Linked DNA regions of Homo sapiens: region 1 is linked to region 2. Evidence: promoter capture Hi-C in 16 types of primary human blood cells and fetal thymus (Javierre and others, 2016). All regions are on one chromosome and are shown on one strand. The core of a region is centred on a gene start or on the middle of the fragment in contact, and the rest is flanking DNA. Distances in the headings are between cores, read along the strand shown. Region 1 holds the start of TUBGCP6 (tubulin gamma complex component 6). Region 2 overlaps CRELD2 (CRELD disulfide isomerase 2).

What was found. The method cuts DNA at HindIII sites, captures the fragments that hold promoters and counts their contacts. A CHiCAGO score of 5 or more calls a contact.
Region 1: a contact is called between the fragment with the promoter of TUBGCP6 here and a fragment that was not itself captured in region 2, in 3 of 17 cell types (endothelial precursors, erythroblasts and M0 macrophages). The highest score is 7.9, in endothelial precursors.

The regions. Positions count from the first base shown.
Region 1 is chr22:50,242,961-50,246,541 of GRCh38, forward strand. It overlaps TUBGCP6 (tubulin gamma complex component 6), which reads right to left and starts at 2,063. Exons shown (of 25, transcript NM_020461.4): 1 at 759-2,063. The coding sequence starts at 1,499. HDAC10 (histone deacetylase 10) reads right to left here. Exons shown (of 20, transcript NM_032019.6): 17 at 3,338-3,416; 18 at 2,950-3,132; 19 at 2,715-2,867; 20 at 2,223-2,570. The coding sequence ends at 2,547. RefSeq lists enhancers at 652-1,582, 1,156-1,435, 1,846-1,895 and a silencer at 2,366-2,435. The HindIII fragment of the contact is 66,555 bases long and covers 1-3,581 here.
Region 2 is chr22:49,924,102-49,927,509 of GRCh38, forward strand. CRELD2 (CRELD disulfide isomerase 2) reads left to right here. Exons shown (of 10, transcript NM_024324.5): 8 at 259-354; 9 at 1,316-1,456; 10 at 3,154-3,408. The coding sequence ends at 3,206. Among named protein-coding and RNA genes, the nearest start is that of CRELD2, 7.2 kb to the left of the region's middle. RefSeq lists enhancers at 1,240-1,469, 1,550-1,629, 1,730-1,829, 1,840-1,969. The HindIII fragment of the contact is 8,169 bases long and covers 1-3,408 here.

The sequences.
Region 1 (3,581 bases), core at 813-3,312, 320 kb after region 2:
AGCAGCCCCACCTCAGGACAATGCAGCCACCAGACTATCCCCCCTTTTACCATGATAAAAGGAAGGTCACCGGGCCGGGCACAGTGGCTCATGCCTGTAATCCCAGCACTTTGGGAGGCCGAGACGGGTGGATCATTTGAGGTCAGGAGTTGGAGACCAGCCTGGCCAACATGGTGAAACCCCGCCTCTACTAAAAATACAAAAATTAGTTGGGCATGGTGGCTCACGCCTGTAATCCCAGCACTTTGGGAGGCCGAGGCAGGCGGATCAAGAGGTCAGGAGTTCAAGACCAGCCTAGCCAGCATGGTGAAACCCCATCTCTACTAAAAATACAAAACTTAGCTGGGCGTGGTGGCATGCACCTAAATCCCAGCTACAGCTACTCGGGAGGCTGAGGTAGGAGAATCACTTGACCCCGGGAGGCGGCGGTTACAGTGAGCCGAGATCGCGCCACGGCACTCCAGCCTGGGCAACAGAGCAAGACTCCATCTCAAAAAAAAAAAAAAATTAAGCCGGGCGTGGTGGCAGGTGCCTGTAATTTCAGCTACTCGGGAGGCTGAGGTACGAGAATTGCTTGAGCCCAGAAAGTGGAGGTTAAGGTGAGCCAAGATCGCGCCACTGCACTCCAGCCTGGGTGACAGAGTGAGACACTGTCTCAAAAAAAAAAAAAAAAAGAAGAAGAAGAAGAAGAAGAAAGGTCACAGGAAGCATTTTCCAAACCCCGAGAGAGATGAAAGAGGAAAAACTAAACATTCTACCTTAATAGCCAGCCCAGAGAGGTCCGCATTGTCTGGCACGGGGGGCAGGCCCAGTCGGACGTCCATGTCATAAGTGCGGCTGTGCACAAGGGCCCCGAAGAGCGAGACCCGGGTGTCTCTCTCGAACCTGTCACCACAAGGGTCACCAAATGAGAAGAGCCCGACGGTGGGCAGGCCAGTGCCTGGAGCAGCCTCCATAACCTGAAGTGTTTCCTGGATCATGCTGTGACACAAACACTCTTCTCTGGAGATCAGAGACTGAACGTCCATCTCAAACACACTCAGGTCGTCGCAATCATAGCCGCTGTACGGAACGTTTCTCCCCACATGCTTGTTGTTAAGGAAGTAGTCTCGTTTTCTCGGCAGAACTTGAGGGGGACCACTCCCTGCCAGCTGAACCAGGAGGTCCAAAACAGACCCCACCTCCAAAAGCGGACAGCAAGGGGCTGCTTCCAGCTCCTCCACAAGCTCCTCCAAACGGTCGGCCTTGGGGCCCAGGCCACCCACTCTCAAGTCAAAGGACAACATGAGGATCTTGTTTCTCGCTGGTAGTTTTGACATGTCAGGCTGCAGCTGTTGAGTCTCATCTTGAAAAAGATTTGTGAAAAGAGCATTGTAGGCCACCTTCTTGAGGCTCCGCTTTGCCCTCTTCCGGTTCACACTGCGCTGGCCCAGGTGAGTCTTGGCAGCCGGCAGGAGGGCCTCACACAGGTCGTCGAACAGCTGCGTGATGCTGGCCATGCCCCTTCTCAGCTCCGGGCCCCCGGCGTGTGGGAAAACACCTCACCCGGGCTTCACTCACGCTCCGGAAGACAGGGAGTGAGAGAGGGTCCGAAGAGGCTGAATGACAGGCGGCCTCTCCAATGCCGAAGCTCAGAACTGGTATTTTTTAAAGGAGGTCTTGCGGTTGCTCTACTCAGAGTAAACACGCCCTGCCCTCCCCAGTCCAAGCACGCTGCCCGGCGCCCGGCAGCCCACCAGAAGCCAGCTCGGCGTTTCTTCTAATTCAGTAGCCCTCAACCTTTAGGGAGTCACAGAACCGTGGCAAAACCGAAGAACGAAACGCGCGCCCGCGCAGTACAGCGGACGAACTCGGCTTTGCACCCGTTCTTCGGGACCCACGAGAGGAGACGGCCAGGAGAGGGTGCCACTCCGAGGGTCGTGGGCAGCGGAGAGTCTGGGGGCTCAGCCGGGTGGGTCCCGGGTTCTGGCCTGCACGTCCACCCGTTCTCCAGGCCTCACCCGTGGAAAGTGCCCACGGCTGCCGCTCTCGCCGCCTCCGTCGCGTCACAGCCGCGCCAGTGTGAAGAGCACTAGGGCGGGCGCGCCGGAAATACGTCACGGGAACGCCGGCAGCGCGTGAAGTTGGTGAGGCCTGGGCCGCGGCATACTTCCGGCCTGAGTCCGGCACCGCGGGTGAGAGACCGAGGCCGAGCGTGCTCAGTAAAGGAGGCAGAGCCAGCGTTTCGTTTGAGCGATGTTTACTAACGGCGCAAGGGCGGGGAGCGAAGCGCAGCGGGGCGCAGGGGCCGGAACGGGACCGAGCGTGGGTTGCATGGGCCTCGATGGGACGGGCCGGGGCGCGATGGGTGGGGCGGGGGCGAGGTGAGGTGAGGGGTGGAGCGGGGGAAGCACGGGTGGGAGAGGGCGGGGCGCGGGGATTGGGAGTGGGCGGGGTTCCGTGCCCCAGAGTCGAGGGAGCCGTGGGCTTGGGGTCCGGATCGCGGCCGCGGGGCGCTGGCGTGCGGTGTCATTTCTGCGGTGTAAATGCTCCCACCTTGGCCGATTTCAAGCCACCAGGTGAGGATGGCACTACAGGAGGAGCCGAGAAGAGGCGCGCAGTTGGCCTCCGGCGCTGGAGCTGGTTCAGGGCACTCCCCTGCCCTGCCCTCCCCACCGATCTGTGCGGCAGAGCCAGGCCCCAGGGCAGGGCCATGCCTCCGCAGTCAGCCTCACCTGCAACATCTTCCACTGAGGCTCCAGCTGCCCTCTCAGGTACATCAGGGCCTGGACGTCCTCTGGGGAGGCCACAGAGGAAGGGCCTAGGCTAGGAGGTGCCTCTCCATTCAGCACCCGGGCCAGGATCCCTGCTAGCTGGGGTGTGGAGTTCTGGACCAGGGGCGAAGACGGAAGCAGTCACTGGTCCTTTCCCTCGTCCCACCCCGCAGCACCTCCACCCTGCCCAGCTTACCTCCTCCAGGAGGGCCAGGACTCGGCCCCCTGCCAGCCCCCGAAGCATTGCAGCCAGGAGTGCAGCGTGGGGGCCCTGCAGGCCATGGCCAGGCCCCAGCGCCACCAGCACCAGGTCAGGCTGGAAGCCATAGGCCAGGGGCAGCACCAAGCCCAAGATGCAGCTCAGGAAACCACCGGTCATCTGTGGGGACAGCAGAGCCCAGCTCCTCATCTACGGACACCTGCTGGCTCTGGCCTCCCAACCTCCCAATCTCAGGGCCCCTGGAGTAGGAGCAGGGAGACAGGAAGGACCAGAGGCCTGCTATCATGACAATGCCAGCAAACAGCAGCTGTACACATCCATGGGCTCCCCAGCACCTGCCTTGCCGCGTGGCATGGTCACTCACCACTGGCAGTGGCGTGGAGACATGGAACATGGATAGGGCAGCCGCCTCCTTGCCCCTGATGTTCAGCCACAGACTCCTCCTTCCAGGACACAGGTGCATAAGTGTAAGGCCCTGCTCACCCTCCTGAGCCCAAACCGCAGAGGCAGAGGTGGAAGAGCATTCACGGGGCCATGGGCAGGGGTGCTGTGACTGCTGAGCCTCTGTGCTGGAGACCCACCTGGCATTGCCTCCAGCAGCCCTTCTC
Region 2 (3,408 bases), core at 615-3,114:
TCTCTGTAGCACCCAGTTTCTCCCAAAGAGTTCCAAGCCAGGTGGTCTGCACCATGGCTCTCCGGGAGCACCTGCTGCACAGCAGGACGCGAGTCTGTGCTTTTGCCGGGAGACAGAGACAGATCGTTATAAAGTCACTTGGTGATGAATGAGGAGAAAACCCAAATCCTGGCGGCACCGGTGCCTTGTGCATGTCGGGGTCTGACGGGCACTGGTGCCTTGTGCATGTCGGGGTCTGACGCTGGCTCCCTGTTGCAGAGTGTGACTCCAGCTGTGTGGGCTGCACAGGGGAAGGCCCAGGAAACTGTAAAGAGTGTATCTCTGGCTACGCGAGGGAGCACGGACAGTGTGCAGGTCAGTGACGGGGTCTGTGCTGGACGCTGGTGGACCCTTCCCAAGTGACCATGATGTGAATGGCCCCAGCAGGTACTGCCAGGGATGGGAAGCAGTTGAGACCCGTCCTGCAGACGTGGCTCCCCCAGGGTCACTGTGCACTCGCCCTGAGGTCCACGTGAGACACAGAAGCAGTGGGGGTGGGGGACGGGCTCTGCATGGCCGACCCTGGTGTGGATGGCGCTGCTGCACCAGCCTCTCGCCGGTGGCCTCGTTCCCCAGGTCCACCGCCTCTGCTCTCCCTCCAGCTCCTGGGTGGCGATTGCCCCGAGGCTTAAGTCCAGGCCTGCCATGGTTGTGGGCTGCCTGGGTGAGCCTGGGCGTGGATGGAACCCGGTGGAGAAAGTGGGTTTCCTGGGCAGGCGCCATGGTTCATGCCTGTAATCCAGCACTTTGGGAGGCTGAGGCGGGGGGATCACGAGGTCAGGAGATCGAGACCATCCTGGCTAACACGGTGAAACCCCATCTCTACTAAAAATACAAAAAATTAGTCGGGCGTGGTGGCGGGCGCCTGTAGTCCCAGCTACTCGGGGGGCTGAGGCAGCAGAATGGCGTGAACCCGGGAGGCGGAGCTTGCAGTGAGAGGAGATCGCGCCACCGCACTCCAGCCTGGGCGACAGAGCGAGACTCCGCCTCAAAAAAAAAAAAAAAAGGAAAAGAAAGTGGGCTTCCTGGGCGCATGCTGGCCTTCCGGCCCCACCTGGAGGTCTCTTCTCTGCATTTTCTACCAGTTGAGGGCCCAACTTGGAGACGTGAAATTCTTCCCTCTCGAAGCCTTTCCTGATCTTTGCTCCTTTCTGTAACGTGACGTTTGTCATCGTTGTGCTTTCTTTATGTGAATGAATCTGAATGAATGAATTTCATAATCCGCTGCGCGTCTGCTGAGCAAAGTAATTATTAAAACGGAGTCTTTTCATTTTAGATGTGGACGAGTGCTCACTAGCAGAAAAAACCTGTGTGAGGAAAAACGAAAACTGCTACAATACTCCAGGGAGCTACGTCTGTGTGTGTCCTGACGGCTTCGAAGAAACGGAAGATGCCTGTGTGCCGCCGGCAGAGGCTGGTGAGTGGCACGGCTGCCCTCCACACAGGCTGCCCTCCCCTGGGCCGCAGGGCTTGCACGTAGACTGGCTGCTTGGTCTGAAATCCACACAGATGGTGGCCTTGAGATGGTGAGAGGGGGATTCCCGGAAGACAGGTGCATGACATCTCTGTGTGGGCACGCTTGCGCGAGAGGTACTGGCTTCCTGAGGATGAAGCCCCAGGTTCACAGCTCAAACGGAAGTTCAGGCGATGAAGGGGGAAGTCTCTGAAGCTCAGACCTCAGCGGGCGATGAGCAGAGGAGCAGACGCAGGAGAAGAGGCAGCTAAAGAGCTGGAAAAGTCATCCGGGGAAGCTGCCCAGGGTGCCGCAGAGACAGGGACAGGCAGGAAGTGGTGGAGGGCAAGCGGGTCCCCCACACCTGTTTCCTGGGGCTACCTTACCAAGAACCAGGAACTTAGGGCTCCAGCAACAGAAATGTGCCGCTCACAGGAGCCAGAAGTCAGAGGCCCAGACGCAAGCAGGCTGCTTCCTTGGGAGGCTGGGTGGGCGCGTCTGTTCCGGGCCTCTGTCCTCGCCTGGGGATGCCACCTGCTCCCCGTGTCTTCACGTGGTCTCCATGCGGGTGTCTGTCTCTGTCCAAACCTCCCCTCTTTGTAAGGACACCAGTCACTAATGCCCTCATGTTAACCTGGCCAGTGGTAAAGACCCTATTTCCAAACAAGGTCACAATCACAGGTACTGGGAGTAAAGACTTCAGCGTGTTTTGGGGGACATAAATCTGCCCGTGACAGTCCTCACAGAAGTCTAGAATATAGAGAGTGGGAAAGAAGCAGTGTTCAAGGAGATATTGGCTAAGGGTTTTTCAGAATGAATAAGGCACGATTCAGATTCCAGAAGCTGTTTCCTGAGCAGGACAAATAAAAGCAATTCCACATCTAGAAGCATCGTAGTAAACAGCAACAGCAAGACAGAACTGAGGGGTTAGCAGAGACGGACAGGCCAGAAGACAAGGCTGCCTGCTACCCCCTCGGTCCCCTCTGCCCTGGGCTGGCCCTGCCTCTTGCCCCTCCCTCCCCCCACCCTCGGTCCCCTCTTGCCCCTCCCTCCCACCACCCTGGGTCCCCTCTTGCCCCTCCCTCCCCCCACCCCGGGTCCCCTCTTGCCCCTCCCTCCCCCCCTCTTGCCCCTCCCTCCCCCCACCCCGGGTCCCCTCTTGCCCCTCCCTCCCCCCACCCCGGGTCCCCTCTTGCCCCTCCCTCCCCCCACCCCGGGTCCCCTCTTGCCCCTCCCTCCCCCCCGTCCCCTCATTCTCCTCCCTCCCCCCCACCCTCGGTCCCCTCTTGCCCCTCCCTCCCCGTACCACCCTCAGTCCCCTCTTTCTCCTACCTCCCCCACCCTCGGTCCCCTCTTTCTCCTCCCGCCACAACCATTGTTCAGGCTCCCATTCTGCCAGGCCGCAAGGAACCCCTTGCCGCTCCCAACTCTGCATCCTCCACACCCACGGCAGCGTGGGGGCTCTGAAATGCCGTCTGCCTCATCTCTCATCTGCTTTGTGGGAAACGGGGGTCTCCGAGCTGCCCTTGGATGGCTGCGTCCGGGGCTTTGAGCCAGGACTGGACGGGCAGGCCCTGCACATGCGCTGCTGTCCTGGGAAAGGCCTCATCCCCAGGGCCCTTTGTGCTCAGCCTTGACGACCTATGCTTGTTTTCTGACAGAAGCCACAGAAGGAGAAAGCCCGACACAGCTGCCCTCCCGCGAAGACCTGTAATGTGCCGGACTTACCCTTTAAATTATTCAGAAGGATGTCCCGTGGAAAATGTGGCCCTGAGGATGCCGTCTCCTGCAGTGGACAGCGGCGGGGAGAGGCTGCCTGCTCTCTAACGGTTGATTCTCATTTGTCCCTTAAACAGCTGCATTTCTTGGTTGTTCTTAAACAGACTTGTATATTTTGATACAGTTCTTTGTAATAA